Linked DNA regions of Homo sapiens: all the other regions are linked to region 2. Evidence: promoter capture Hi-C in human tissues and cell types (Jung and others, 2019). All regions are on one chromosome and are shown on one strand. The core of a region is centred on a gene start or on the middle of the fragment in contact, and the rest is flanking DNA. Distances in the headings are between cores, read along the strand shown. Region 1 overlaps STK32B (serine/threonine kinase 32B). Region 2 holds the start of STK32B (serine/threonine kinase 32B). Region 3 overlaps STK32B (serine/threonine kinase 32B). Region 4 overlaps STK32B (serine/threonine kinase 32B).

What was found. Contacts are between HindIII fragments. The study calls those that stand out against the background at their distance.
Region 1: a fragment that was not itself captured here is called in contact with the fragment with the promoter of STK32B in region 2 in 3 of the 25 tissues and cell types used here (H1 embryonic stem cells, IMR-90 fibroblasts and heart left ventricle).
Region 3: a fragment that was not itself captured here is called in contact with the fragment with the promoter of STK32B in region 2 in 1 of the 25 tissues and cell types used here (dorsolateral prefrontal cortex).
Region 4: a contact is called between a fragment that was not itself captured here and the fragment with the promoter of STK32B in region 2, in 1 of the 25 tissues and cell types used here (lymphoblastoid cells).

What each region holds. Positions count from the first base shown.
Region 1 is chr4:5,322,764-5,329,818 of GRCh38, forward strand. The region is part of intron 3 of STK32B (serine/threonine kinase 32B); the gene reads left to right. Among named protein-coding and RNA genes, the nearest start is that of LINC01587, 200 kb to the right of the region's middle. The HindIII fragment of the contact is 4,391 bases long and covers 1-4,127 here.
Region 2 is chr4:5,048,220-5,055,901 of GRCh38, forward strand. STK32B (serine/threonine kinase 32B) reads left to right here and starts at 3,261. Exons shown (of 12, transcript NM_018401.3): 1 at 3,261-3,696. The coding sequence starts at 3,645. RefSeq lists an enhancer at 3,963-4,501. The HindIII fragment of the contact is 7,679 bases long and covers 1-6,878 here.
Region 3 is chr4:5,482,172-5,489,673 of GRCh38, forward strand. All of the region lies in intron 11 of STK32B (serine/threonine kinase 32B), which reads left to right. Among named protein-coding and RNA genes, the nearest start is that of LINC01587, 39 kb to the right of the region's middle. The HindIII fragment of the contact is 4,995 bases long and covers 3,237-7,502 here.
Region 4 is chr4:5,345,309-5,353,005 of GRCh38, forward strand. All of the region lies in intron 4 of STK32B (serine/threonine kinase 32B), which reads left to right. Among named protein-coding and RNA genes, the nearest start is that of LINC01587, 180 kb to the right of the region's middle. The HindIII fragment of the contact is 3,055 bases long and covers 4,836-7,697 here.

The DNA.
Region 1 (7,055 bases), core at 682-3,181, 270 kb after region 2:
GTGAGATGGAGAGTCAGTCACTCATCAGGTAAGAGGAGGAGCTGAACCAAGCTTTTCCAACTCCAGATTTCCCCCAGCAACAGGCACTGCCTCCCTCATATGTGTTCACGTGTATTTCATGTGTTATCAGCATGGCTGACCTTTAGTTTGTAAGCAGCCTCCAAGGCTGATGATTGAGTACATGACATGCTTTCCAAGAAAACTGACCTAGTGACCTTGGACCAGTCAACCTCTCTTGTCCTTGGTTTCCTCCATTGGGCAATTGAGGGTGATAATGCCCACGTCCCACGGTTAGTTGGGACAAGTGTTAAGGGATGAGCAGGGGGTCTGTGAAGAGCACCTCTCCTCCCTTCTCGATTTTAGGACTAATTGAGAGACAGGAGTCTGACAGGTGGAGGTGGAAGTATCCACTTCATGCTAACAGTCAGTCAGAGAAACCCACTTTAGATTGGTAGCCAAAACGGCTTGCTACCTCTTGAGTTCTGAAATGGAATCACCTCCGAGGCACAGGAAACGGTGATCACCTGCAAGTCCCCCTCCACCAGCCAGGCCCTGGCTGTTGCAGAGAGCAGACAGGAGTGTAAGCCCACTATGAGCAGGTTCTGAAGCAGAAGGGGAGCCCGAGGGGACTGTGCTGAGCACGGCTGCTTCTTCTGGACTCCCTCATCAGGTCTATCACTTCTGCACCCTGCAAGGGAGGGAGACGGCTATGGGGAGAGACTGGTGAGTCACTCAGGCTAATGGGAGTCCCTGGTCTCTGTGACAAGAAGAGGCCAGAGAAAAAGGAGGTTCCTGTAGGTAGTGACATAAACAGCAGGGCCTAGCACCCTTCCTTCCCCATCAACCCTCTACCCTCTGTCTTTTTTCTGTACAATGCCCCACTTCTGTGTAGACATCATTGACTGACCCAATGTGCCACACAGAATATGGGTGTTTCAGGCGTTTGTGGCTTTTTCATTCCGGAGTGTGTGGAATGCTCCTGGCTATGTGCTAAATGCAGGGGATGGTGCTGAATTAGCTAGGTCCCTGCACTCAGAGTTCACTGGCTGGTGGGGAAAAGAGACCAGAAGAGCAATGGTGACTTGGCCACAAGGAAAGTGCTATAGGGCATCAAGCACAGAGTCTAGGTTCTGGACATGGACTATCTTGGCTCAGTCCCAGCTCTGCTATTCCCTGGCTGTCATCTTGGACATGTTACTTAATCTCTCTGAACCTCATGGTCTTGAGCTATCGAAGGCAGTTTGTAATAACTCCTATCTCAAAGGATTGTTGGGAACATTAAATGAGCGCATATACGTAAAGCACTTAGGCCGGGCACGGCAGCTCACACCTGTAATCCTAGCACTTTGGGAGGCCGATGCAGGAAGATCACTTGAGGTCGGGAGTTCAAGACCAGTCTGGCCAACATGATGAAACCTTGTCACTTTTAAAAATATAAAAGCTAGTCAGGTGTGGTGGCATGGGCCTGTAATCCCAGCTACTGGGGAGGGTGAGGCAGGATAATTGCTTGAACCCAGGAGGCAGAGGTTGCAGTGAGCCAAGATTGCACCACTGCACCCCAGCCTGGGCAACAGAGGGAGACTCCATCTCAAAAAATAAAAATAAGAAAATAAGGCACTTAGAACGGTGTCTGGCACAGAATTTGCACCACATCAGTGTTAACTGTTATTATTATAAGGGACTAGGGGGTCACCTGCCTCAGTTTCCGGGGTTAGGGAAGGCTTCTTAAAGGAGGGAGCGTCAGTCTTAAGCAGGGTTTTTCAACCTCAGCACTGTTGCCATTTTGCAGTAGGTGATTGTGGTGGAGGCCGTCCTGTGCATTGTAGGATATTTAGCAGCATCTCTGGCTCCAACTCACTAGATGACAGCAGCATCCCTCCAAATTGTGACAACAAAAACTGTCTCCACACATTGTCCAATGTTCCCAGGGGAGCAAAACTGCTCTGGGTTTGGGAACCCTGCACTATGCTGAGAAGTGAGTGATGGACAAGAGGACAGAGGTGGTACACCAGGAATAAGGAATATTGTGGGTGAACGTGTGGAATTGTGAGAGTGTGGGTCCATCCAGGGACTTGTCCTAACATGACGGCAAAATCTGGGCTCCCTTATGAAATCTTAAGCCCAGGTGAGCACTCATGTGCCGACTTCTCCCACTAAATCCTTGGCTTCTTGCAAGGACCAAATGCATGGGAGAAGCCTACTGAGTACTTGCTGCTGTGCGTGCGAGCCTGTCTTCGTGAAGTAGTCCCTGAAGAACATTCACCTCGTGCTCTGCTCTAAATTTATCCTGGTATGAAGAAAGTTCATCCGTGAGCATGACGCACAGCCTCATTGCTTTACCCCATGTGGCATTGCTTCTATGAAATTGGATTTTTAATGCCTTCAGCCTACCTTGAAGCACATCATGCAAAAAATTCCTGTTCCACTTATTACTGTGTTTAGAGTTATTTTATGTAGACTCATGGTTCACCACATTACAGAACACCATCTTCATAAGAATCCAGTGGAAGAAATTTCCCACTGATTTCAGTACCAGGACAAAAATCTTGCTTTTCCTAAACAATTGTTTTTTTTTTCCACATCAGCTCTGAATCATGTAGCTGATCATGTTTCTCTTTTTGCTCTGTGTGCTGGGGAGATTTGAGACACATTGATGGGCCATTTCAGGGAAGCATACAGGATCTTGAGGCATAAATTGGGGTATTTTTTCCTGATTCTGTTTTCTTGGATTTCTTTTTTATTCTGTGACTTGATCTTTGTCTTCCTTATTTTTAATTCTATTATGTTATATACATTTCACAAGTCACCTGAATCCTTTCTGGAACAAAGTAGGAAATTAATAATTTTTTAAAAAATAAAACATGGAAAATCGCATTCTTTATGCAGTTCTATTGCAATAGCCAGGCCAGGATTTAGGCCTTCACAGCACACAATTTTCTTTGCTCTTGCAAGGAGAGCCTAATTTTCCAGATTTTTCCATAGGTCAGAGTTACTGTGATAGAGCTTAGCTTTCTTATTTGTGATCTCCATCATTTCCATGACAATGTTCAGCACTATTATGAGAATATAATTCTAATTCTAATACAAGAAGCAAAAGGGACAATGTCACAAAGCTGTAGAATAGTGCAAAACTACAGAGAGATAAATGAAAGGTCATTCTGTGTTCTCCAGTAATAATATTGAGTGTCTCTGGGAATGTAGGGTCTGTGGCCTGGTGAAGAATGTGGATCTGCAGCAAGAAAAAGCCACAACCTGAATTATTGCTTAAAATATTGTTCTCTTAGCATTTTGATTTTCCTCTTTAGAATTCATTCCAGTATGCAAGTTTCCCTCTGAAAATTCATGTTGCTCCTCCAAAGAGTTGTGATGGAATACTGAATGAGATGCCCTTTGACAGTTTAGCTGTGAGTTGAGAGTACAGAACTCGCTGGTTATTAATGCAATGTTTCAATAGTCCATCAACTATTAGAATACAAATTGTGCATCTGTAGTCGGCATATTATGTTTGATTCCTGTGTTTTCTTTTGGGGCATCTATATTCTTCTATCCAGTAGCAAATACATGAAAAGTTGTAACTCAGTTCCAAGTCACAGAAATTCAAAGTAAAGTAGCTTAATTAAAAAAAATAAAAACAGTCATTGCCCATGTAAATATGAAGTTCAGGGATGGATCTTTCTTCTGACTAGGTGGGAGCCAGTACCTCCAACAGTGCCTCTTTCTGCATTTAGCTCCCAGCCCTGCTTCCCTCTCTGCAGGTTCTCTCCCTAGACAGGTCTTATTGACATTTTTTCGTTTTCTAGTGCCTTTAAAAGTTATGTTTATACTACACTGTATTCAGTGTGCAACAGCATTATGTCTAAAAAGTGTACATACTTTCATCTAAAATACTTGTTAGCTACAATGCTAACACTCATCTGAGCCTTCTTTCAACAAGTCACAGTCTTTTTGCAGGTGGAGGGTCTTTCCTCAATGTTGATGGCTGCTTACTGATCAGAGTGGTGGTTGCTGAAGGTTGGGGTGACTGTGAAAATTTCTTAAAATAAGAAAACAATGAAGCTTTCCACGATGATGGAGTCTTCACTTCATGAAATATTTCTCTATAGCAAGTGGTGCTGTTTGATAGCATTTTGCCCACAGTAGAACTTCTTTCAAAAGTGGAGTCAGTCCTCTCAAATCCTACAGCCGCTTTATCAACTAAGCTTATGTAATATTCTAAACCTCTTGTGTCATTTTAACAATGTGTACAGCACCTTCATCAGGAGCAGATTCCATCTCAAGAAGCTCGTTTCTTCCTTATCCTTAGGGGAAACAACTCAACTCCTCATCTCTTAACGTTTTATCGTGAGATGGCAGCAATTTAGTCACATTTTCAGGTTCCACTTCTGATTCTAGTACTTTTGCTACTTTTACCACGTCTGCAGTTCCTTCCTCCACTGAAGTCTTGAACCCCTCATAGTCATCCATGAGGGTTAGAATCCACTTCTTCCAAACTCCTGTTAATGTTAGTACTTTGACCTTTTCTCATGAATCATGAATGTTCTTAATGACAATCTAGTATGGCGAATCCTTTCCAGAAGATTTTCAATTTACTTTGCCCAGATCCATCAAAGCAATCACTATCTATGGCAGTTATAGTCTTACAAAATGCATTTCTTAAATAATAAGTGTCAAAGGTCAAAATTACTTCTTTATCCATTAGCTGCAGGATGGATGTTGTTTTATCATGAAAACAACATTAATCTTGTACATCTCCATCTGAGCTCTTGGGTGACTAAGAGTGGTAATATTTTGAAAGGAATTTTTTTTTGAGAAGTAGGTCTCAGCATTGGGTCTAAAATATTTGGTAAATTTTGCTGTAAACTGGTGTGCTGTCATCTGGGGTTTTTTATTCCACTTATAGAACACAGGCAATAGATTTAGCATAATTCTTAAGGGCCCTGGTATTTTCAAAATGGTAAATGAGCATTGGCTTCAACTTAAAGTGACCAGCTGCTAAAACAAGAGAGCCTCCCTAGTGAGAGAGCCTTTCCTTTGACCCTTTGAAGCCAGGCATTGACTTCTCCTCTCCAGCTATGAAAGTCCTAAATGACATCTACTTCCAATATAAAGCTATTTGCTATTTTATCTACTTTGAAAATCTCCTGTTTGGTGTATTCACCTTCACCAGTGATCTGAGCTAGATCTTCTGGGTAACTTGCTGCAGCTTCTCCATCAACACCTGCTGCTTCACCTTGTGCTTTTATGTTCTGGAGATGGCGTCTTTTCTTTAACCTCATGAACCAACCTTTGCTAGCTTCCAGCTCTTTTTCTGCAACTCCCTCACCTCTCTCAGCATTCATAGAACTGAAGAGAGTTAAGGCCTTGCTCTGGATTAGGATTTGTCTTAAGGGAATGTTGTAGCTGATTTGATCTTCTGTCTAGACCACTAAAATTTCCTCCCTATCAGCAATAAGGCTGTTTGGCTTTCATGTCTTACATGCGTTCATTGGAGTAGCAATTTTTATTTCCTTTGCATTTATAACTTGGCCAACTTTATGTTGTAAGAGTCTAGCTTTCAGCCTATCTTGGCATTTGGCATGTCTTTCTCATTAGGCTTAATCATTTCTAGTACTTGATGTAAACTGAGAGATGTGTGATTCTTCCATTCACTTGAACACTTACAGGCCTTTGTAGAGTTATTAACTGGCCTAATTTCAATATTGTTATGCCTCAGGGAATAGAAAGGCCCAAGGAGAAAGTGAGAGATGGGAAACTACTGGTCAGTGGAGCATGAGAACACATCCAACCTTTATCCATGAAGCTTTGGGTGCTATATGGATGCCATTTGAGGAGCTTCAAAGCAATTGTAATAGTAACATCAAAGACCATTTATCATAGATCACTATAGGAGATATAATAATGTTTGAAATTTTGCAAGAATTACCAAAATGTGACACAGAGATACAAACTGAGCACATGCTATTGGAAAATTGACACTGATAGACTTACTGGAGGCAGGGTTGCCGCAAACCTTCAATTTGTAAGAAAGTGAAGTGCAGTAAAACAAGGTAGTCCTGTGCTTCCCAGCGAGGCTGTATTACTTACATGCTCCTCTCTTTGTTGAGGGGGAGGAGCATGGATGAGGTTATACTGGCCCTGAAACAGATCTGAAGTCCAGCTGGTGGCCGGGCGCGGTGGCTCATGCCTATAATCCCAACACTTTGGGAGGCCAAGAGTGAGAGTGAGAATAATAATTAATAATACCAACAATAATAAAAACTTTCTGGGCAAACAAAAATATTCTAACTGAAACTTCTGGAAATAGTGCCTTGAAACTGTGACAGGAATATTGGGAACGTCCTGGGTACTCTGGGTGCCTCTGCCTAGAAAGGCAGAAGGGCCTTTCAGCACAGAACAGCCTGGGAGAAAGACAGCATCTTCAGCCCTGCACCCTCCACCATCACAGCACTTCCTGTGAGTCTCTGATAGGAGACACTTCATTCCATCCCGTGAGGTTTGTTCCAGTCTCTCATTCCATGAGGAGCAGGGACTGTATCTTACTCCACTCCTGCCCATCCATGTCACCATGGTGACTCCCAAAGGTGGCCCTCCGCTGTTTGTGCAGGTTGTGGGTACTGCGCCATGATCCAGCCTCCCGCCATGGGTCATGCTGTTTCTCTCTCTGTCTGAGTCACACAGCCTGTGCGTTCCTGACCCAGTAAACCCCTCATGGGTAAAGACTTTCCCAATTCCTCCCACCCACCTTCACCTGCTAGAGCACTGGCCTCCTCCTTTCCCACACTCGCCTGCACCCTGGAAAGACTCCTAGAATGCCAGCCCGTGCATTGTCAGTGACTGTCAGCCCAGCCCCTCCCAGGGCACTGTGCACGCCTCCAGGGCGAAGACAGTTTCTTTGTCCCAGTGTCCCCAGCACGTAGCCCAATGCCTATCAGACAGTAGGTGTTCCATAAGCCTCTGGTAAATTCATGATCTGGGGACGCAATAAACAGCCCCCTTCCTTGCCTTAATTCTGAACAATTATGAACAATGGGTAAGATACACAAAGAGGATATGAC
Region 2 (7,682 bases), core at 2,011-4,510:
CCCAGGTTCAAGACATTCTCCTGCCTCAGCCTCCTGAGTAGCTGGGATTACAGGCACATACCACCATGCCTGGCTAATTTTTTTTTTTTTTTTTTTTTGAGATGGAGTCTCACTGTTGTTGCCCAGGCTGGAGTGCGATGGCGCGATCTTGGCTCACTGCAACTCTCTGCAGGTTTCAGCAATTCTCCTGCCTCAGCCTCCCGAGTAGCTGAGGTCACAGGTGCCTGCCACCACGCTTGGCTAATATTTGTATTTTTAGTAGAGATGGGGTTTCACCGTGTTGGCTAAGCTGGTCTCGAACTCCTGAGCTTAGGTAATCCACCCACCTTGGCCTCCCAAAGTTCTGGGATTACAGGTGTGAGCCACCGTGCCTGGCCTAATTTTTGTATTTTTAGTAGAGACAGGGTTTCACCATGTTGGCCAGTCTCGAACTCCTGACCTCAAGTGATCCTCCCACCTAGGCCTCCCAAAGTGCTGGGATTATAGGCGTGAAACGCCACACCTGGCCAATTTCTGCATTGAAATCTTAGGTCTTTGCACTTCTCAACCATTTGAGTTGGCTTAGCCTATTTGTGCCCCAGTCTCCTCCAGAGTGGGGATGGTGACACACCTACCTCTCAGGGTTGCTGTGAGGATGAGAAAATCCATGCAGAGCGCTTGAAGTACCAGAGTCAGGCACATTCTCTATGGATGGGGAGCAGAGAAGTGAAGGGGTTGCCGGAGGTCCTAGCACCCTGCAAAGAGTTAGCACAGAGCTGGACATGCAGAGTTCTCAATACACATGCACGCTGTCACTGAACACTGCACTGCAAGACTAATTCCAGCCGTGTGGAACATCTCCCAGCATCTGCAAAGTGTCCCACTCTCTAGGCCTGGAGAACTTTGCACCAGTAGCCTCCTTTCTTCTTCCAACCCGGTTGATTCCTTGCCCTTCCAGTCTCAGCGCCAGCACCCTCTCTGGCCAATGCCTTCTTTTCTTTTGTTTTTTTTTTTTTGAGACGGAGTCTCACTCTGTCACCCAGGTTGGAGTGCAGTGGCACAATCTCAGCTCACTGCAACCTCCGCCTCCCAGGTTCAAGGGATTCTCCCACCTCAGCCTCCCGAGTAGCCGGGATTACAGGTGGGTGACATTTCTGTCATGCGTGTCCGTGTGAAGAGACCACCAAACAGGCTTTGTGTGAGCAATAAAGCTTTTTAATCACCTCAGTGCAGGCGGGCTGAGTCCGAAAAGAGAGTCAGCGAAGAGAGATATGGGTGGGGCAGTTTTATAGGATTTGGGTAGGTTATGGAAAATTAAAGTCAAAGGGGTTCTCTGGGAGGCAGGGGCGAGGGTCACAAGGTGCTCAGTCGGGAGCTTCTGAGCCAGGAGAAGGAATTTCACAAGGTAATGTCATCAGTTAAGGCAGGAACAGGCCATTTTCACTTCTTTTGTGATTCTTCAGTTGCTTCAGGCCATCTGGATGTATATGTGCAGGTCACAGGGGTTATGATGGCTTAGCTTGGGCTCAGAGGCCTGGCAATCACACCCAGCTAAGTTTTGTTTTTTTAGTACAGATGGGGTTTCTCCATATTGGCCAGGCTAGTCTCAAACTCTTGACTTCAGGTGATCCACCCGCCTCAGCCTCCCAAAGTGCTGGGATTACAGGTGTGAGCCCCCACGCCCGGCCTAGCACAATATCAATATATTCCTCATAACAATGTTAGAAAGGGAAAGTTCTCTTATTAGCACCTTCTGGACTCAGATGAAGAAACTGAGTCCAGAACAGGTTAAGTAATTTATCCAAGTTAACTGGCTAATGAGGGGCAAAGCAGAATGAAACCTGGGTAGAATGAGCCCAGAGCCCATGCCTGTCCACATTCCGCCCTATGCTTCTTGAGCTAGGGGCCAGCTCTGTGTTCAGGGCATTGCCTGCTGCACACTGGCTACTCAGTGTATGCTTGTTGGTGGAATGAAAGGCAAGAAATATTTATTCATCATTTATTATATGCCGGGCACTGTTGCCTGCTTTTATAAATATTACCTGATATAATTCTCACAGACAACCCAAGGAGTTAATATCAATCAGCCCACTTTGCAGATAAGAACTCCAAAGTGGGACACATTGCCAGTAAATGGTAGAGCCAGCTCTGGGTCATGGTGGGTGGGCCTGCCTCAGACCTTCTCAGTTCTTTCCCACTGCCTTTAAGAGATTTTTTGTTTTGTTTTGTTTTGTTTTGTTTCTGTATGAGTCTCCCCGGCTTCCCTCACCCTTCTCCCAAGAAAAAGAAAGAAGGGGAGAGAACTGGAGAGAGAGACCAGGTAGGGGACGGGGACTGGGGGACGAGATAGGATGGAGAGAGTCACAAAGAACCCCTGCTTTCTATCAAAGCACGGACAGTGGTTCCAGGCGCCCAGCAGATGGCAGGATGTAGCCAAAGATTCCCTGCAGTCCCGGAGAGCTGGGCCCGCAGGACTGCAAGGCAGGGGGACCTGCCTGTCCCTCAGGGAGCGTCCTGGGAACCCGCGCTCGCCCCACACGTCTTGGGGCGCATCTGCCGCACCCCTTACTTAGGCACCCGCAACTGTGGCGCGTATCTCCCGATCCAGGCTCCCGCCGCAGGAGCCCAGGGACCCTCATGCTAGCCTCGCCCCTAAATCGGACGCCGATGCCGCCCAATTTTGGGGGAATCCCGAGACTCATGCCCAGCCATTCCCAGGGAGAATGGTTTGGGGCAAACTATGGCTGTCTGGGGCCTCAGTTTCCCCATGTACAATGAAGGGGTCAGATTAGTATCTAATCTTAAGGGGTCAGAAAGTAAACAGATACTTTCATTCATTAAACACTGAGAAAAACCTTAAGAGGAACAGCGTCGGTTGGAGAGCCAGCAGACACTCCACTGCCCATCCCAATATGAATGGGCAAATACAGGCTAGCGGGGAGTCCTGGGACTCCCTTCGCAGCCGGGGCCGACTAACCACAGACCTAAGAGCCCCTCTACCTCTAGACCTCCGTCTACTGCGCTCTAAAATATGAACGATGCTTTCTTACTGCTGGGTTGTCGGAGGCGGATGTGGGATGGTGCTAACAAAGCGCGTAGCCGAGGCCTGGCCATAGTGGGTGCTGACAAACCGCTTACTGCCTGCAGGGACCGAGCTCCCGGCCGAGGGAGGAGGGCCGAGCAGGGATTCAGATTCTTCCGGGCCGATCCCTTTCTCAGCTCCTTCCGCCCTGCCGCCGCCCACTGCGTGCTGCCTTCGTCCGTCCCCTCCTCCCCCGCTCCTTCCCCTCCTTCCCCTGCTCCCGCGCCGCCTCGCGTCTCCCGCCCGCTGTAGCCGGCGAGGAGCGCCGCACGTTGGCCCCGGCGCGAGGAGCTCCCGGGTTCCCGGGCGGGCACTGGAGTAAGGAGCTGCGAGCGCAGCCCGAGGCGGGGCACGGCGGAAGGCGCGGCGAGAGCGGGGTCCCTGCGAGCGCAGTCGGAAGGGCGTCCAGGAGAAGGGGGACGCCGTCCCCGCCCCTGCACGGTGCTCGGCCCCCTCGGGCTCCGCGCGCGGCTACAACCCGGACTGGGCGCGCCCCCGGCATCCCGCATCTCTGCGCGCGTCCCACATCCCGCATCCGGCATCCCAGCGGCCGGGCATGTAGCAGCGGCAGCAACGGCGGAATATGGGCGGGAACCACTCCCACAAGCCCCCCGTGTTTGACGAGAATGAGGAAGGTAAGAGAGCGAGAGGTGCGAATTCCCGCTTCGCGGGGCATCCCCTTCCTCCACCACCCTCGGCCGAGCCCTGCGGGGCACCGCATGCTGCCCGGCGCGGGGACCCAGGCATGGCCACTTCGCCCAGCGAATGCAGTGTGTGCCCGACCCGTGCCAGGCGCGGCGCTTCTGCTGAGGCAACTCCTAGGTACCCAGTGCCGTTTAGTAGTCGGGACGGTGCCTAGCGCGGGACTGGGGAGGCGGCTTCAGAGAGTTGAACCCGAAACCTGCACTTGGGGGTGTGGAAGGGAGGAGTTGACTTCGGAGGCCAGTCGGGATGGTTCTAGGCTCGGGCTCCCCAGGAAACCGAGGTTTCCTTGAGAGCCTGAGGCTGACGGAGGTGGCCTGGAAGGGCGGGTTGCACCGTGTGTCTGTGTGTGTGTGCGCGTGCCCACGACGCATTTGGTCTCGTGCAAGGGCCTGTTGGATGCAGCTCTCCTCAATCACCCAGGACAGAGGGAAACTTTTCTTTGCTAAACTCTGTGGTTCCTAGGAGGGCGTCCTGTTCTGGGCAGCCTCCCCCTGGCGCAGAAGTGGTGTAGGCTGTCCAACCGCATCTCAACTTCCTGGCTGGATCCTTGCGGTTCAGGTCGATAGAGCTCCCTATTTGGACTAGCAGAACCCTCTTTCCAGTGCAGCGTGTCCCTGGAAAACTTACTTCACCTCTCTGAAACATTAGTCCCTTCATCAATGAAATGTGAGTTATGATACCACTAGCTACTTTATAGGGTTGTTTGAAGCTTAACCACTAGTAATCCACGTGAAAAGTGCCTTATAAATGCAAGCAGTACCGAGCTGTGCCGTTTTTTATGTTAAGAGCCCTCTGCCTCTCAAAGCTGGTTTCCTACTGTGCTGACTCGCCAGTCTCCACTGTGCCCCAGGTAAGAGCTGAGACATACTGAGCACTTACTATGTTCCAGCCATGCTAGCACATAGTGTTCACTCCATCCTTTTCATGCCCCTTGAGGTGGCTACCTTAGAAAGGGGTCTGTCCTGGTTACTGCTGGTAAGAAGTAGAGCTGGGCTTGAGGCAGGACAGTCTGCTTTGAAAGCTGTGCCTGTCATCATTACCCAGGGCACTGGCTGTGTGCGTACATCATGGATGGCTTCTAGAACTCCCAAGGCTGTGAGTGCTACTCAGATGCCTGCCTGGACAGCCCTTCTCAAAAAGATAGATGAACACAGTCAAGGTTAAGTGAGCACCTGCTGTGTCAGGCCCACGAGAGCCTTCCTTAAAGGAGTTCCTAGTCTAATGGCCCTGAATGACCGTCCATGGTGATAAGGGCATTGAGAAACCAGTGCAGGGTCTTGGGGGCACAGAGAGGCCCCAGCTTTTCCTGATCTTTAGTCTGGAGCATGTGCAGGTGAGCAGGTAAGGAGCCAGTTGTGGACAGAGGAGAGGTGGGCACAGAGGTAATGGAGGCTCTTGCATGTCCCAGTAAGAGTTTGAACACTATGCAGCATCACCCTCAATTGCACGGGCTTGTGGTTCTAGCCTGGGTCAAAGGTCATGCTTTTGCTAATTTTCCTAGCATCTTTCTCTTTTATTTACAGAGGAAATTTGCCACCCTTATATTGAAAACCGTCTCTGTCATTTATCCCCAGCTTGAAAATATTCATTGGCAAAATAGTTATCTCTGGTGTAGCCAACCTTTTGATTTTCCTGTTCCTGTTCCTTATTCTATAAGCAGATTGGGCCTAAGGTTAACTGCCTGTTTCGGTGCTTGTTAAAATACAAGGTTATGAGGCCGGGCGCGGTGGCTCATGCCTGTAATCCCAGTACTTTGGGAGGCCGAGGTGGACGGATCACCTGAGGTCAGGAGAGGCCTGCCTGGCCAACATGATGAAACCCCGACTCTACTAAAAATACAAAAATTAGCCGGGCATGTTGGCGGGAACCTGTAATCCCAGCTACTCAGGAGGCTGAGGCAGGAGAATCGCTTGAACCCGGGAGGCGGAGGTTGCAGTGAGCTGAGATCGCACCATTGCATTCGAGCCTGGGCACCAAGAGTGAAGCTCCATCTCAAAATAAATAAATAAATAAATAAATATAAATAAATATAAGGTTAGGGCTCTCCTCATTTTGCCATTGCCCAGCCCAGTGAAACATTAACTTGTTTGATTTTGCCAGTATGTCTCTCACACGTTTCCTAGTACAGGTAAAACAGTGTTACTTGCCACCAACCGACTCATTTATTTCGTAGGCATTTACTATTTGTATTTTCTGTACCCACCCCTGTGCTGGGGACCGGGAATATGAGGAGGATGAAGGCAAAGTGTTAACAATTTGCTCCCAGAGCAAGTAAACCACCTGGAAAACACAGGGTGTGTAAGTGCCCTGACGTGGGTGAGCTCAGGCGACTGATATCCTGGAGGAGGGTCCCTAACTCAGAGTGGGGGGAGGGATCTGAAAAGGCCTCCTCTTTTAGACTGGCATCTTGCAGAAATGGCAGGAGTTACCTGGGGGGAAGAAGTGGGTGATAGAAGGGGGAAGGACGTTTCAGAGAAAGGGAAGAGTATGTGCAAAGGCAGATGGTAAAGAGTAAGCCTGGCTCATGTGGGGGGATTGAGGGGGCTTAGTACTCCTGCATTGTGGAGTATGAAGCTGAAAGGCACAAAAGATGAACCCTGAATGCCTGGCCGGCCTTAAAGGGCCCAGTGGCCGTGGTCAGGTGTTTGGACTTGATCTTATAGGCATTTTGGAGTCACTGAAGGGTTTTAAGCAGGGAGTGACATGGTCCAGTGAACAAGCTCTCCCAAACCATAGTCATTGCGTGGTTGAAGGTTGAAGATGCAAACACCTGCCTGACCAGAACAAGTCTGATTTTTAAGTACTTTGATGTTAAACCACAGCTAAATATTTGCCATTGTGTAATTGTGACAGGACCGTCATCCACATTCCTAAGGCAAAAGTTTAACTCATTGTGTGCAAGTGGTCATAGCTGTTCACGCTCACATGATATATAATAAGCAGAGAAAGGATCATGCCACAGATTAATAGGCAGAGTTGCTTTTTTTCCAAGTGTTGCATAAAATAATGGTGGCTTTACTGTGGATGGCATCTAACATTTGGTGAAAAAGGGCACGTTAGCTGAGCCTCCTCCAGTTGCAAATGATGGAAAAGCAACATTAAGTGCTTTTTTGTTCTTAAAAAACAAAAGGTCTCACTCTGTCACCCAGGCTGGAGGGCAGTGGTGGGATCTTAGCTCACTGCAGCCTCAACTTCCCAGGCTCAAGGGGTCCTTCCATCTCAGCCTCCCAAGTAGCTGGGACAATAGGCTTCTACCATTATGCCTGGCTAATTTTTAATTTTTTTTTTTTTTTTTTAGAGTCAAGGTCTCACTCTGTTGCCCGAGCTCACAAAGTGCTTTTAGGGGAATAAATTGGCTCTGGCCATTTCTTGCCTTCTCCATCACTACCATTCTTGTCCAAGCCATGTCACAGCTCTTGCTTGGATTATTACAGTCACCTCCCTAAGTCCTTACATGGTCTGTCCCTACCCCCGTCACTGTCCCCTCAATGCAGCATCCAGAGTGATCCTGTTAAAACATGCCATGGGCCAGATCAGTCCTCTGCTCTGCTCAGCCCACCCTCAAATCCTCCCTCCAGCCCTAGGCACAACTTGCATCGTTAAGAAAATAAAAGCTGAAGTCCTTATAGATGCCCATCAGGTGCTACCCTCTGAGACTGCACCTTCCTCTGTCACTCCTGGCTCACCTGCCTCCTTCCTGCTCGTCTGACATGCCCTGCACCCTCACACCATAGCCCTGGCACCTGCCCCTCTTGCCCGAGGGCATCTCCCCCCCAGCCCACTCTCACTTCCTTCGGGTCTCCAGGAAAATGTTGTTGACTCATTAGACTCTCATTGACCACCCTACTTAAAATGTCATTCCAAATCCTTTTCCTTGCTTTATTTTTTTTTGTGGAAATTATCACCATCTATCATA
Region 3 (7,502 bases), core at 4,484-6,983, 440 kb after region 2:
GGGCAGTATGGCCATTTTCACGATATTGATTCTTCCTACCCATGAATATGGAATGTTCTTCCATTTGTTTGTATCCTCTTTTATTTCGTTGAGCAGTGGTTTGTAGTTCTTCTTGAAGAGGTTCTTCACATCCCTTGTAAGTTGGATTTCTAGGTATTTTATTCTCTTTGAAGCAATTGTGAATGGGAGTTCACTCATGATTTGGCTCTCTGTTTGTCTGTTATTGGTGTATTAGAATGCTTGTGATTTTTGTACATTGATTTTGTATCCTGAGACTTTGCTGAAGTTGCTTATCAGCTTAAGGAGATTTTGGGCTGAGATGATGAGGTTTTCTAGATATACAATCATGTCATCTGCCAACAGGGACAATTTGACTTCCTCTTTTCCTAATTGAATACCCTTTTATTTCTTTATCCTGCCTGATTGCCCTGGCCAGAACTTCCAACACTATATTGAATAGGAGTAGTGAGAGAGGGCATCCCTATCTTTTGCCAGTTTTCAAAGGGAATGCTTCCAGTTTTTCCCTATTCAGTATGATATTGGCTGTGGGTTTGTCATAGATAGCTCTTATTATTTTGAGATATGTCCCATCAATACCTAATTCATTAAGAGTTTTCAGGATGAAACGTTGCTGAATTTTGTCAAAGGCCTTTTCTGCATCTATTGAGATAATCATGTGGTTTTTGTCTTTGGTTCTGTTTATATGCTGGATTACATTTATTGATTTGCATATGTTGAACCAGCCTTGCATCCCAGGGATGTAGCCCACTTGATCATGGTGGATAAGCTTTTTGATGTGCTGCTGGATTCGGTTTGCCAGTATTTTACTGAGGATTTTTGCATCAATGTTCATCAAGGATATTGGTCTAAAATTCTCTTTTTTGGTTGTGTCTCTTCCCGGCTTTGGTATCAGGATGATGCTGGACTCATAAAATGAGTTAGGGAGGATTCCCTCTTTTTCTATTGATTGGAATAGTTTCAGAAGGAATGGTACCAGTTCCTCCTTGTACCTCTGGTAGAATTTGGCTGTGAATCCATCTGGTCCTGGACTCTTTTTGGTTGGTAAGCTATTGATTATTGCCTCAATTTCAGAGCCTGTTATTGGTCTATTCAGAGATTCAACTTCTTCCTGGTTTAGTCTTGGGAGAGTGTATGTGTCCAGGAATTTATCCATTTCTTCTAGATTTTCTAGTTTATTTGCGTAGAGGTGTTTATAGTGTTCTCTGATGGTAGCTTGTATTTCTGTGGGATCGGTGGTGATATCCCCTTTATCATTTTTTATTGCATCTATTTGATCCTTCTCTCTTTTCTTCTTTATTAGTCTTGCTAGCAGTCTATCAATTTTGTTGACCTTTTCCAAAAACCAGCTCCTGGATTCATTGATTTTTTGAAGGTTTTTTTGTGTCTCTATTTCCTTCAGTTCTGCTCTGATCTTAGTTATTTCTTGCCTTCTGCTAGCTTTTGAATGTGTTTGCTCTTGCTTTTCTAGTTCTTTTAATTGTGATGTTAGGGTATCAATTTTAGATCTTTCCTGCTTTCTCTTGTGGACATTTAGTGCTATGAACTTCCCTCTACACACTGCTTTGAATGTGTCCTAGAGATTCTGGTATGTTGTGTCTTTGTTCTCGTTGGTTTCAAAGAACATCTTTATTTCTGCCTTCATTTCGTTGTGTACCCAGCAGTCATTCAGGAGCAGGTTGTTCAGTTTCTATGTAGCTGAGCGGTTTTGAGTGAGTTTCTTAATTCTGAGTTCTAGTTTGATTGCACTGTGGTCTGAGAGACAGTTTGTTATAATTTCTGTTCTTTTACATTTGCTGAGGAGTGCTTTACTTCCAACTATGTGGTCAATTTTGGAATAGGTGTGGTGTGATGTGGAAAAGAATGTATATTCTGTTGATTTGGGGTGGAGAGTTCTGTAGATGTCTATTAGGTCCACTTGGTGCAGAGCTGAGTTCAATTCCTGGATATCCTTCTTAACTTTGTGTCTCATTGATCTGTCTAATGTTGACAGTGGGGTGTTAAAGTCTCCCATTATTATTGTGTTGGTGTCTCAGTCTCTTTGTAGGTCTCTAAGGACTTGCTCTATGAATCTGGGTACTCCTGTATTGGGTGCATATATATTTAGGATAGTTAGCTCTTCTTGTTGAATTGATCCCTTTACCATTATGTAATGGCCTTCTTTGTCTCTTTTGATCTTTGTTGGTTTAAAGTCTGTTTTATCAGAGACTAGGATTGCAACCTCTGCCTTTTTTTGTTTTCCATTTGCTTGGTAGATCTTCCTCCATCCCTTTATTTTGAGCCTATGTGTGTCTCTGCACGTGAGATGGGTTTCCTGAATACAGCACACGGATAGGTCTTGACTCTTTATCCAGTTTGCCAGTCTGTCTCTTTTAATTGGAGCATTTAGCCCATTTACATTTCAGGTTAATATTGTTACGTGTGAATTTGATCCTGTCATTATGATGTTAGCTGGTTATTTTGCTCGTTAGTTGATGCAGTTTCTTCCTAGCCTCGATGGTCTTTACAATTTGGCATGTTTTTGCAGTGGCTGGTACCAGTTGTTCCTTTCCATGTTTAGTGCTTGCTTCAGGAGCTCTTTTAGGGCAGGCCTGGTGGTGACAAAATCTCTCAGCATTTGCTTGTCTGTAAAGTATTTTATTTCTCCTTCACTTATGAAGCATAGTTTGGCTGGATATGAAATTCTGGGTTGAAAATTCTTTTCTTTAAGAATGTTGATTATTGGCCCCCACTCTCTTTTGGCTTGTAGAGTTTCTGCCTAGCGATCAGCTGTTAGTCTGATGGGCTTCCCTTTGTGGGTAACCCGACCTTTCTCTCTGGCTGCCCTTCCCATTTTTTCCTTCATTTCAACTTTGATGAATCTGACAGTTATGTGTCTTGGAGTTGCTCTTCTCGTGGAGTATCTTGGTGGCGTTCTCTGTATTTCCTGAATCTGAATGTTGGCCTGTCTTGCTACACTGAAGAAGTTCTCCTGGATAATATCCTGCAGAGTGTTTTCCAACTTGGTTCCATTCTCCCCGTCACTTTCAGGTACACCAATCAGATGTAGATTTGGTATTTTCACAAAGTCTCATATTTCTTGGAGGCTTTCTCGTTTCTTTTTATTCTTTTTTCTCTGAACTTCTCTTCTCGATTCTTTTCATTCATTTCATCTTCCATCACTGATACCCTTTCTTCCAGTTGATCGAATCGGCTACTGAGGCTTGTGCATTCGTCATGTAGTTCTCGTGCCATGGTTTTCAGCTCTATCAGGTCCTTTAAGGACTTCTCTGTATTGGTTATTCTACTTAGCCATTCGTCTAATTTTTTTCAAGGTTTTTAACTTCTTTGCCATGGGCTCAAACTTCCTCCTTTAGCTCGGAGTTGTTTGATCTTCTGAAGCCTTCTTCTCTCAACTTGTCAAAGTCATTCTCCCTCCAGCTTTGTTCCGTTGCTGGTGAGGAGCTGCGTTCCTTTGGAGGAGGAGAGGCACTCTGCTTTTTAGAGTTTCTAGTTTTTCTGCTCTGTTTTTTCCCCATCTTTGTGGTTTTATCTACCTTTGGTCTTTGATGATGGTGATGTACAGATGGGGTTTTGGTGTGGATGTACTTTCTGTTTGTTAGTTTTCCTTCTAACAGTCAGGACCTTCAGCTGCAGGTCTGTTGGAGTTTGCTGGAGGTCCACTCCAGACCCTGTTTGCCTGGGTATCAGCAGCGAAGGCTGCAGAACAGTGGATATTGGTGAACAGCAAATGTTGCTGCCTGATCATTCCTCTGGAAGTTTTGTCTCAGGGGAGTACCTGGCCGTGTGAGGTGTCAGTCTGCCCCTACTGCGGGGTGCCTCCCAGTTAGGCTACTCGGGGATCAGGGACCCACTTGAGGAGGCAGTCTGTCCGTTCTCAGATCTCCAGCTGCGTGCTGGGAGGACCACTACTTTCGGGGAAGCTGTCAGACAGGAACATTTAAGTCTGCAGAGGATTCTGCTGCCTTTTGTTTGGCTATGCCCATGCCCCCAGAGGTGGAGTCTCAGAGGCAGGCTGGCCTCCTTGAGCCGTAGTGGGCTCCACCCAGTTCGAGCTTCCCAGCCTCTTTGTTTACCTACTCAAGCCTTGGCAATGGCGGGCGCCCCACCCCCAACCTCGCTGCAGCCTTGCAGTTTGATTTCAGACTGCTGTGGTAGCAATGAGCGAGGCTCCGTGGGTGTAGGATCCTCCCAGCCAGGCGCGGGATGTAATTGCTGGTGTGCCGTTTGCTAAGACCGTTGTAAAAGCAGTATTAGGGTGGGAGGGACCTGATTTTCCAGGTGCCATCTGTCACCCCTTTCTTTGACTAGGAAAGGGAATTCCCTGACTTCTTGCGCTTCCAAGGTGAGGCGATGCCTCGCCCTGCTTTGGCTCACGCTCGGTGCGCTGCACCCACTGTCCTGCACCCACTGTCCAACACTCCCCAGTGAGATGAACCTGGTACCTCAGTTGGAAATGCAGAAATCACCTGTCTTCTGCGTCGCTCATGCTGGGAGCTGTAGACTGGGAGCTGTACACTGGAGCAGTTCCTATTTAGGGGACTGGAGCTGGCTCCACCCCCCTAAAATGTTTTATTTGGGAGGAAAGAATTGCAATTCAGGGCATACATTGCAGATTGGCTGGTCTTTAAGTATGTCCAAAGAACAAAGAGAAGGTTAGAGGTTTCATAAGAAGGAGAAATATTACATATTGCTCTTTGAGAAGTTTCACTGGCACCAGTAAGATGTTGAGCAGTTAGCAAGTTCTGATTGGTAAGTAATAGCAGTGGGCAAAACCAGTCTTAGAATTGCAGCAGGTCATTTACTGTATTTCAGTTGGGTATGACAAGAATGACCCAGTTCATATGATCAGTTTTTACAAGTTCCCTTTTTGGTCAAGCTGTTTCTCTGAAAGTGTTGTTGATCAACCATGCTGTAGTTAGGCTTAATTATCCCTCAGCACCAGAATGGATCTGTCCCAGTTGTCTCTGTCCCATGTTGCAGGGAAGATATGTGGGTCTTTGTCAGGGACCCAAACCACAGTAAAGTAACAAAAAGGCCAGAAGGAAAAATCTTCCCAGAATGGGTTTGACTGTGGTCTAGTATTGATTTCCATCTAATTAGTCCATGGGCATGAGCAGTCATCTGGAAGTGTTGAGTTAACATTATCCTGTTAGGAGACTTGGCATCACAAAGATTGGAGAGGCAGTAAGAGCAAAGTTTAAAAATTATAATACAATTATAATATGATAAATGATTAACAACAACACAATACAATTAGTTTGTACAATGATTTTGAACTCACAGCCGAAGCCTAAGGGCAACAAACTAAAATCTAAAGACTGTGGAGGAAACTGGGTGAGACGTGTTGTAGCCATTGAGTCACATTTTATGACTGGGTTGACTTAAAGAAGAAAATGTCAACTGACAAAAGAAATCACCAATACAACTTGACCAAAAAGCTGTGCTAGGGTTATCGTCAAAATAGCCTAGAGCAATTACGTATTGTAAAATGTGAATTACAGCATTATCCTGCCAAATGAAAAAGGTAGCATCGAGGAGGGGAGGAGTCTTATTCTGATATGGAGTCTCGTTCTGACACCTTAGGATAAGCTGTTTACAGTGTGGAAAACACCCCCTTCTTATTTTGGTTTGCAGTTTAAATGTCTCTGGTTATGGCATCAGGAAGCTTGGTGAACCTTCTTTGTGGCCCACACATGAGGCATGAAACCTGCTCCTTAAAATTTATCTAGTTTCAATGTATCAGGCTTTAGGAACAAAGCAAGTCTCATTTTAGTAATTTTATTTAAAAAAGAGAGTTGAATTTGAAGAATTCTAATTTAGGACCTAGGCTGGTCTATAGGCAGATAACAAGAATTCATAAACAATGTACAGAGTTACAACCTGATAACCCTATTCTTATATGGTCAGACCAGCCTGACCAACATGGTGAAACACTGTCTCTACTAAAAATACAAAAATTAGCTAGGTATGGGGCACATTCCCGTAATCCCAGCTACTCAGGAGGCTGAGGCTGGAGAATCACTTGAACCCGGGAGGCAGAGGTTGCAGTGAGCTGAGATCACGCCACTGCACTCCAGCCTGGGTGACAGAGTGAGACTCCGTCTGAAAAAGAAAACAAAATCAATGTAAGATTTTATGGTGTAATGGTGAGCACTCTGGACTTGGAATCCAGAATTAACAAACAGAACATCCTGCAATTTTATTAAGAGCAGATCAATATTTCAAAAACATTTTTTATTTAAATATAGGGAACTTTTTTTTTAGTTTTTTACTAATGTATTTTGAATGTCAAAACTCAGTTGTTAGAAAGGTTATCATAAATAATTACCTTTTAATTGTAGTCAACTTGATCACACACATTACTTTCATAAATTTCCCTTTCACAAGCCTTTCTGTGACTCACATAGACCATGCATGACATGCCTTAAATATTCTGCTTTGTCTTCTGCCTCCTCCTTAAATAACTCAGTCATTTTATTTGAGGACAAAAATTTACCACACAAGATTCTTTCTCATTCAAAATTAGTCTCTTTTCTTTGCAACCTTCCTTAGCAAAAATTTATCTTCATATCTATAACTTTCTTCACATCTTTCTCTCCTACTTACCAGTTCTTTTATATCTTGTTTCTATTTTCTTGCTAGATTTATATTTTAAAACCACCTCTAAATAGCCTCTGAATTAGACAAAACATTTTTTTCTCAATAAAGAATATATTTTATGTCTGTCTTATAATTCTTATTAAAAACTTCATATTTTTATATTTTATATACAGAATGTTATATGTTAATTAAAATTTTTAACTCTCAGTAACCTTGAATTTTAGTAAAACTCTAGGACTCAAGATCTTTAATTGTCTGTCATGTATCAATATTTTGAACGAGAACCAGTTTATAATTTGAAGTCGTAATTGAAAATGACCCAGACATTTAATGAGTACCTATTAATTAAACATAACCTTAAGATTTCAAATCACATGAAAAGTTTATTCATAGACATTTGTCCAATTTACGTTTATCTGCTTTATTAATTTTTAATAGCTTACCTAAATTACCTATGAGAATTGAGATATTAGACAAAGCTAATCATCATTTCAAGTTTTTTCTCTATTAATAATTTTTTAGCCTGTAAATATCAATTGTTTACCTAAGCAAGAACCCTAAAGTTAAATGCATGGTTTCCTGTCCATAACTCAGAAAATATGGCTGTTTTGATTAAATTAGCAATACTTAATTAATTCTATTCATCAAGTAATTGCAGGAAGATCATTTTGTTTTAGGCTGGGTTCATAGCCTTATGATCTGAAAACATAGAAAAAGCAAAATATAAAACTGTCTGATAAGTAAACCCAGGCAAAAAAACGTATGTAGACAATTATGAAGACATTTTAAATTTTATTTCATTAACAACAATTTTATTTTATTTTATTTATTTTTTATTATTTTTTTTGAGATGGAGTCTTGCTTTCTCACCAGGCTGGAGT
Region 4 (7,697 bases), core at 5,113-7,612, 300 kb after region 2:
CCTTTTTTTTTTTTTTTAGCATTTTCATGAATTTAAAGCAGATGCTTCAAACTCTGTCTTTAAATTCCTCGTTCCTGTTCCCATGGACCACTTAATTTTAAAATGTTAACTCACTAAAAGGCAAATAAACGATACACTAAAAGCACATGCATGTTTGAAATATGTTTTTGGAAATTAGAAAACAAAATTGTTTATGAGACATTAGACCATAATGATAACCAACATTTCTGAGCATTTTGCATGTGCCTGGTTCTGTGTTAAATCTTCTGCAGGTGTTGGGTTCACCTAGTCCTATCAGTAGTCCCATTTTACAGGTGAGACCACAGTGTCTCCTGGAGGGTGAATAACTTGCCTAAGGGCAAACAGGAAGTGGCCACCCCAAGTCACCAAGCTTGAGGGCCTAAGCTCATACTATCTCTATTCTGATAACCTATGGTAATCAAGTTCTTCAACAACACGTATCCATAGAATTGATCTGCTATCCAAGCTTTCGTGATGGAAACGTCACATGGATGACTCTCATGGAAAAATGAAATTCTTTTGCTTTTGCTTGTGTATGAAAATAAATATGTATTTTTAGTGACACTATTCAACATCCTCCCTCCCTGAAGTTCTTGGCATTCCCTGTCATATTGTGGGACAGTGGCCCTTTCCCATTGAGTTTGCATGAACTGATGGGAATATCATTTGTGTTCCTATATTGAAATGCTTGTGGGTGTATGGTTGTTATTTTCACATACAGATTTTGAGCTTGTGCCTCCTGAATCCTGGAAAGGCAAACTATCTTAACTCCTGATATTTTGACAAAATTTTCTGTGTCTGTCTTAGAAAACTAATTGCAGAATGGGGCTGGGGTAGTGGTTCCCGTTTGCCAATACTACCTTGCTGAGAAATCAGGTGTGTTCAAGCTGTGGGGACAAGAATTATACCAAGTAGCAAGTGTGATCAGGCTTCTGGTCCTAAGACCTTTTTGACAAAGGCTCATCGCTCATTTAATAGCAGTGTACATGAAGGAATGTAAGAGTCCAGATTTTCTCAAACAGTGGCTTTAGTGGCTTAAATTGGGCCTTGGGCAGTATCCCACCCTCTCTGGGTCCAAGTCTGGGTTCCTTCTGATGAGCAGTGGAGTTTGTAAACAAACAAACCCAAACCTCTGACTTAGTTCCCCAGAACAGTGGGACATAGGAGCAAGACTGTGAAGCCGACAAAACCCAGATTGCATAATTGATGCAGGGAGGGATTGGGGTCACCCTGTGTGTAGACAGGGTCCAGGCCTGGCCACTCACCGCTGTAAAGAGCAGTGCTAAGAGCCTTTACATCTTGTTCTAGCTCAGAGACCGTGGGTAAGTCAGTGACTGCTCTGGACATGATTTTGCTACTCTATTAACAAGGAGGAGTGCTCACCTCCCACAGAGCTGTTGAGGGATTGAATAAGCTGAAATAAGTGTCAGTCACTGTATTAGTCCATTTTCACACTGTTATAAAGAAATATCCAAGACTGGGTAGTTTAGAAAGAAAGAAGGTTTAATTGACTCACGGTTCTTCATGGCCGGGTAGGCCTCAGGAAACTTACAATCATGGTGGAAAGGGAAGCAAGCATGTCTTAGATGGTGGCAAGTAAGAGAGAGCACATGTGAAGGAGGAACTGTCAAACACTTATAAAACCATCAGATCCTGTGAGAACCCACGTACTATCATGAGAACAGCATGAGAGAAACTGCCCCTGTGATCTGGTCACCTCCCACTAGGTCCCTCCCTATACATGTGGGGATTATGGGGATTACAATGTGAGGACATGAGATTTGGGTGGGGACACAGAGCCAAACCATATCAGTCACCATAAAAAGTGTTCACCAAATGCAGCTCATTTGTCTTGGGGAGCTGGAAAGCTCTACAGTTAGAAGCTGGATTCAGCTAAGAACAGAGCCTGACTCTTAGATTTGGCTAAAGACAGCTGGCACCTTTGTTGTGAGTTCAGGCACATCATCTAATCTCCCTGAAGCTTTGGTTTATTTTCTATAAATAAAAATACTATCTACAGTGAACATAAACATGATCTCCCCAAAATATCCACATTTTAATACCTAGAACCTGGGAATATGCTGTGTTATACAGCAAAGGGAAATTGTGGTGCAGATTGAATTAGGGTGGCTCATCTGCCATTATTGAGATGGAGGAGATTATCCTGGATTATTTTAGTAGAGCTTATGTACTCAAAGAGCCTTAAAACTGAAAGAGTGGTGTTTCAAGATTGCTGACTACATACATTTGGTAATCACCTCATCCATGGAGAGTGATATGGTTTGGCTCTGTGTCCCCACCCAAATCTCATCTTGAATTGTAATCCCCACATGTCAAAGAAGGGGCCTGGTGGGAGATGACTGGATCATGGGGGTGGATTTCCTCCTTGCTGTTCTCATGATATTGAGTGAGTTCTCACAAGATCTGATAGTTTAAAAGTGTTTGGCACTTCCCTCTTTGCTCTCTTTCTCCTGTTCTGCCATGGTAAGACATGCCTTGCTTCTCCTCACCTTCCACCATGATTGTAAGTTTCCTAAGTCCTCCCCAGCCATGCAGAACTATGAGTCAATTAAGCCTCTTTTCTTAAAAAAATAAATTACCCAGTCTTAAGTAGTTCTTTATAGCAGCATGATAATGGAATAAGACAGAGAGGAAACAAAATAATGAGTACATAACCACTCTGAGTAGATCATCTAAGAGAGAATACAGGAGTTCAACAGAAAAGTGATGGGAAGCACCAAAAGCAAGGAAGGAGAGGGAAGCAGGACAACCCATTTGGCTGGGATAGGCTGTTAGGAGAGGTTCCCTAATGCTGGAAAATAAAAAGTGAGAGACCCCTCAGGGGTCCAGATTCCCACAACAGATTCCTACAGTCCTAGCCATGGGAGAGCCCCTCAATCTTTCTGGCCCCTGAGACTAACATAAGGAACTGCATGGAGACTGTGGGAAGGCACTGCTCCAGAGAGGGAGTCCATTCTGTGTCCCACACCTTCTTCCCAGTCCTAAGCAGCTGCAGCAGGCTGCCATTTTGAGAGCCCAGCCACACCAGACTGCATTCTTCCCTAGGGCCCAACACCCCTTGCGCTTTTGCATCTCTGGAATCCCATGGACATTCCCCACCCATAGCCGTTGCTTTAGGAACCAAGGAGGGAGCAACTGGCAGTGACACCACCCGACCTCTAGTAGAGGGGTGACTGCACATTTTTATGTGCTGTGAGGACAAATTCCCACCCACTGCTGCAGGGTGCTGTGGGGCTGAAGTGCAAGCAAAGTGCACACCCCCAAGTTGCCTGATTACAGCTGCTGCCGCTAACAGCATCCCCACACTACTCAGTAACAGAGCTTTGGCACAGCCACTGCCACCTTCACCTGAGCATTCCACCAGAGGCCTGAGGATCACCACAACCCTGCCTACAATAGGCAGTGTCTGCATGCACCATCAGGGGGCCTGAGGACAGTTTTGCCTTTCACAGCTTCACCCCTCACCAGTACCTGAGCATGCAGCCAAGGGACCTGGGGGAATCATCATCCAACCCAGTCCACCACTGATGGCACCTTAACACTCCTTCCAGAGTCTGAGGTCAGGCCCAGTCAGCCTGCCACTACCATCACAGCAGGTACCCACCCACATGTGCCACCTGTAGGTCTGAGGGCTGGCCTGCCCAGCCCATCACTGCCACTACAAATACCAGCATGGACTGCTTGGGTTCCAAAGGGTTGTTCTACCATTGTGACTACCCATCATTCATGTCATGCCTGCTACTCAGGAGCTTGAGAACCCACCAAACTTCCTGGCCCACTACTGCCATTCTTAGCACCTGAGAAAGCCACCTAGAGGTCCAAGAGCTGGCCTGCCTGGAACAAATAAAGCCAGTGCCAGTATATGCCACCCTGGGGCCCAAGGACAGGCACATGCACTCCATCACTGCCACCAATGTGGCCCAAAGACTGGCCCACCTTGTATCCCAGTGCCCAGCAAAACTTCAGCAGAGCCTCCGTAAACAACAACATACTAAGCCACCAAGGAAACAACAGACACTATCAATGCTGTTTTATACCTGAAGAAACCATACAGAGACTACACTGCTGCACCCACCCAGAACCAAAGCCAAATTTCTCTACACTGCCAACACAATATACACATCTTTAGGAAAAAGTCTTCCCCTATGAAAGCAAATTCAAAAAATTGAAAAAAGTGACTATTATGCCAGATGCACAGGTAACAATGTAAGGACACAGGAAACATGAAAAAGCAAGGAAATATGAAACCCCAAAGGAACACAGTAATTATCTGGCAACACAGATCCCAATCAAAAACAAATGTATTGAATCCTAAAAAAAGAATTCAAAATATTGACACTAAAGTTCAGTGAGATAAAAGAGAATATTGAAAAGCAATGCAAAGAAATTAGAAAAGCAACTCAGGATATGCCTGAGAAATCTACCAAAGAAATAGATATAAAAAACAACCAAGCAGAAATTCTGGAACTGAAGAATTCATTTAATAAAATACAAAATACATTCAGAGGCTTCAGTAATAGACTAGATCAAGAAGGGGAAAGAACTTGAAGACAGATCTTTTGAAATAAACTAGTCAGACAAAAATAAAGATAAAAGAATAAAAAATAATGAGCAAAGCCTATGTGACATATGGGACACCATAAATCAATTGGATATTCAAATTTTCAGTGTCCCAGAAGGAGAATAGAGAAGGAAGGGAAATAAAACCTATTTAATGAAAATTCTCCAAGTCTAGCAAGACATTTAGACATCCAGATACAAGAAGTTCAAAGGTCCTGGCATAGATACAATTCAAAAAGGTTTACTCCATGGCACATTCTAGTCAAAATGTCAAAAGTCAAAGAAATTAAAAACAGCAAGAGAACAGCATCTAGTCACTTATAAAGGACTTCCCATCAGGTTAATAGCAGATTTTTCAGAAAAAAATATTTAAAACTGCAAGTCAAGGATGCTACACTCAAAGTTGTCTTTCATAAATAAAGGAGAAATAAAGTCTTTCCCAGACAAGCAAAAGCTGAGATAATTCATCAGCATTAGACCAGCCCTACAAGAAATGCTTGAGGGAACCCTACCCCTGGGAGTGAAAGAATGATAACTCCCACCATGAAAACACACAAAAATATGAAAACCACTGGTAAAACAACACACAAACAAAAAATGGGAAAACTCAAATGTTACCAGTAGAGAATACCACCAAAACGCAATGATAAACAATAAAATAGGAACAAAGGATATACAAAATAACTAGAAATCAATTAATTAAATGACAGGAATATACCCTCACATATCAATAATAACATTGAATGTAAATGGATTAAACTTTCTACTTAAAATATATAGACTGGATGAGTGGATTTAAAAGCATGACCCAACTATATCCTGCCTACCAGAAATGTATCTCATCTGTAAAGACACATATAGACTGAAAGTAAAAGGATAGAAAAAGATATTCCATGCAAAGAAAAACCAAAAATAAGCAGGAGTAGCTCTACTATATCAGATAAAATAGACTTTAAGTCAAAAACTTAAAAAGAGATAAAGAAGGTCAATATATAATGATAAAGGGCTTAATATAAACATATATGCACCCAATGGTGGAGCACCCAGATATATAAAGCAAATTTTATTAGATCTAAAGGGAAAGATAGACTCCAGTACAATAACAGTTGGGGACTTTAATATCCCACTTGCAGCATTAGACATATCACTTAGACTGAAAATTAACAACAACAACAACAACAACCACGAAACACACTGGTTTTATACTCCACATAAGACCAAAAGGACCTACCAGACATTTAAGACCATTTCATCCAACAGCTACAGAATACATCAGTACATGAAACATTCTCCAGGCTAGACCATATGTTAGGTCTCAACAAATTTTTAAAAATTGAAATTATGTCAAATGTTTTCTCAGGCATCAATGGAATAAAACTAGAAATCAATACCAAGAGGAACTTTGGAAACTATACAAATGCATGGAAATTAAACAACATGCCCCTGAATAACCACTAGTTCAAGAAAGAAGTTAAGGAGAAAGTCAAAATACTTCTTAAAACAAATGAAAACCAAGACACACATGCCAAAACGAATGGGATACAGAAAAAGCAGTGCTAAGAGGGAAGTTTATAACAATAAATGTCTGCCTACATCAAAAGAGTAGAAAGATTTCAAATAAACAAATGATTTACCTCAAGGAATTAGAAAAAGAAGAACAAACCAAATTCAAAATTAATAAAAGGACAAAATAATAAAGATCAGGGCAGAGCTAAATAAATGAAATAGGGACTAAACAAATACAAATGATCAACAAAAAAGAAAGTTGGTTTTTTGAAAAGATAAAATTGATATGTCACCAGCTTGACTAAATAAGAAAAAAGAGAGAAACCCAAATAAAATCAGAAATGACAAAGAAGACATTACAACTGATAACACAGAAATACGAAAGATCATCAGATACCATGATGAACAATTATGCACTAACAAACTAAAAAACCTAAAGGAGATAAATTTCTGAAGACATACAACCTACCAAGATTAAATCAGGAAGAAATGGAAAACCTGGGCAGACCAACAGCAAGTAATGATATTGAATTAGTAATAAAAAGTCTCTCAAAAAAGAAAAGTCCAGGACCAGATGGCTTCACTGCCAAATTATACCAAACTTCCAAAGAGCTAACAAAGTTTTCCTTAAACTATTCTAGAAAAGTGAAGAGAAAGAAACTCTCCCTAACATATTCTATGAGGACAGCATTACCTTGATACCAAAACCAGACAAGGATACAGCAACAAAAGAAAAGTATAGGCCAATATTCCTGATGACCTTAGACGTAAAAATTCTCAAGAAAATACTTGCAAACCAAATCCAGCAACACATCAAAAATTAATCCACATGATCAAGTAGAATTTATCTCAGGAACACAAGGATGGTTCAACATATGCAAATCGGTAAATTTAGTACATCACATCAACAAAATTAAGGAGGAAAAACAAATGATCATCTAAATAGATGCAGGAAAAGAATTTGATAAAATTCAATATCCTTTCATGATAAAATCTCTCAATAGACTAGGCATAGAAGAAACATCCCTCAACAAAATAAAGGCCATATGTGACAAAACCCCAGCTAACATCATACTGAATGGGGCAAAGCTGAAATCCTTTCCCCTAGGAACTGGAATCAGACAAGAATGCCACTTTTACCACTCCTATTCAACATAGTACTGAAAATCATGACCAAAGCAATCAGAAAAGAGAAAGAAATAAAAAAAAAAAAAACGTCCAAACTAAAAAAGAAGTCATTTGTCCCTCTTTGCTGATGATATGATATGATATCTAGAAAAACCGAAAGACTGCACCAAAATACTCTTAGATCTGATAAATCGAGTAAAGTGGCTAGATACAAAATCATCATACAAAAATCATCAGTTTCGATTCATCAATAATTAACTAGCTAATATTGTTAAAATGACCATACTACCCAAAGCAATCTACAGATTCACAGCAATCTCTATGAAAATACCAACATCATTTTTCACAGGAATAGAAAAAACAATCCGAAATTCATAGGGAACCACAAAAGAGCCCAAATAGCCAACGCAATCCTAAGCATAAAGGACAAAGCTTGAGGCATCAAAATAACTGACTTCAGA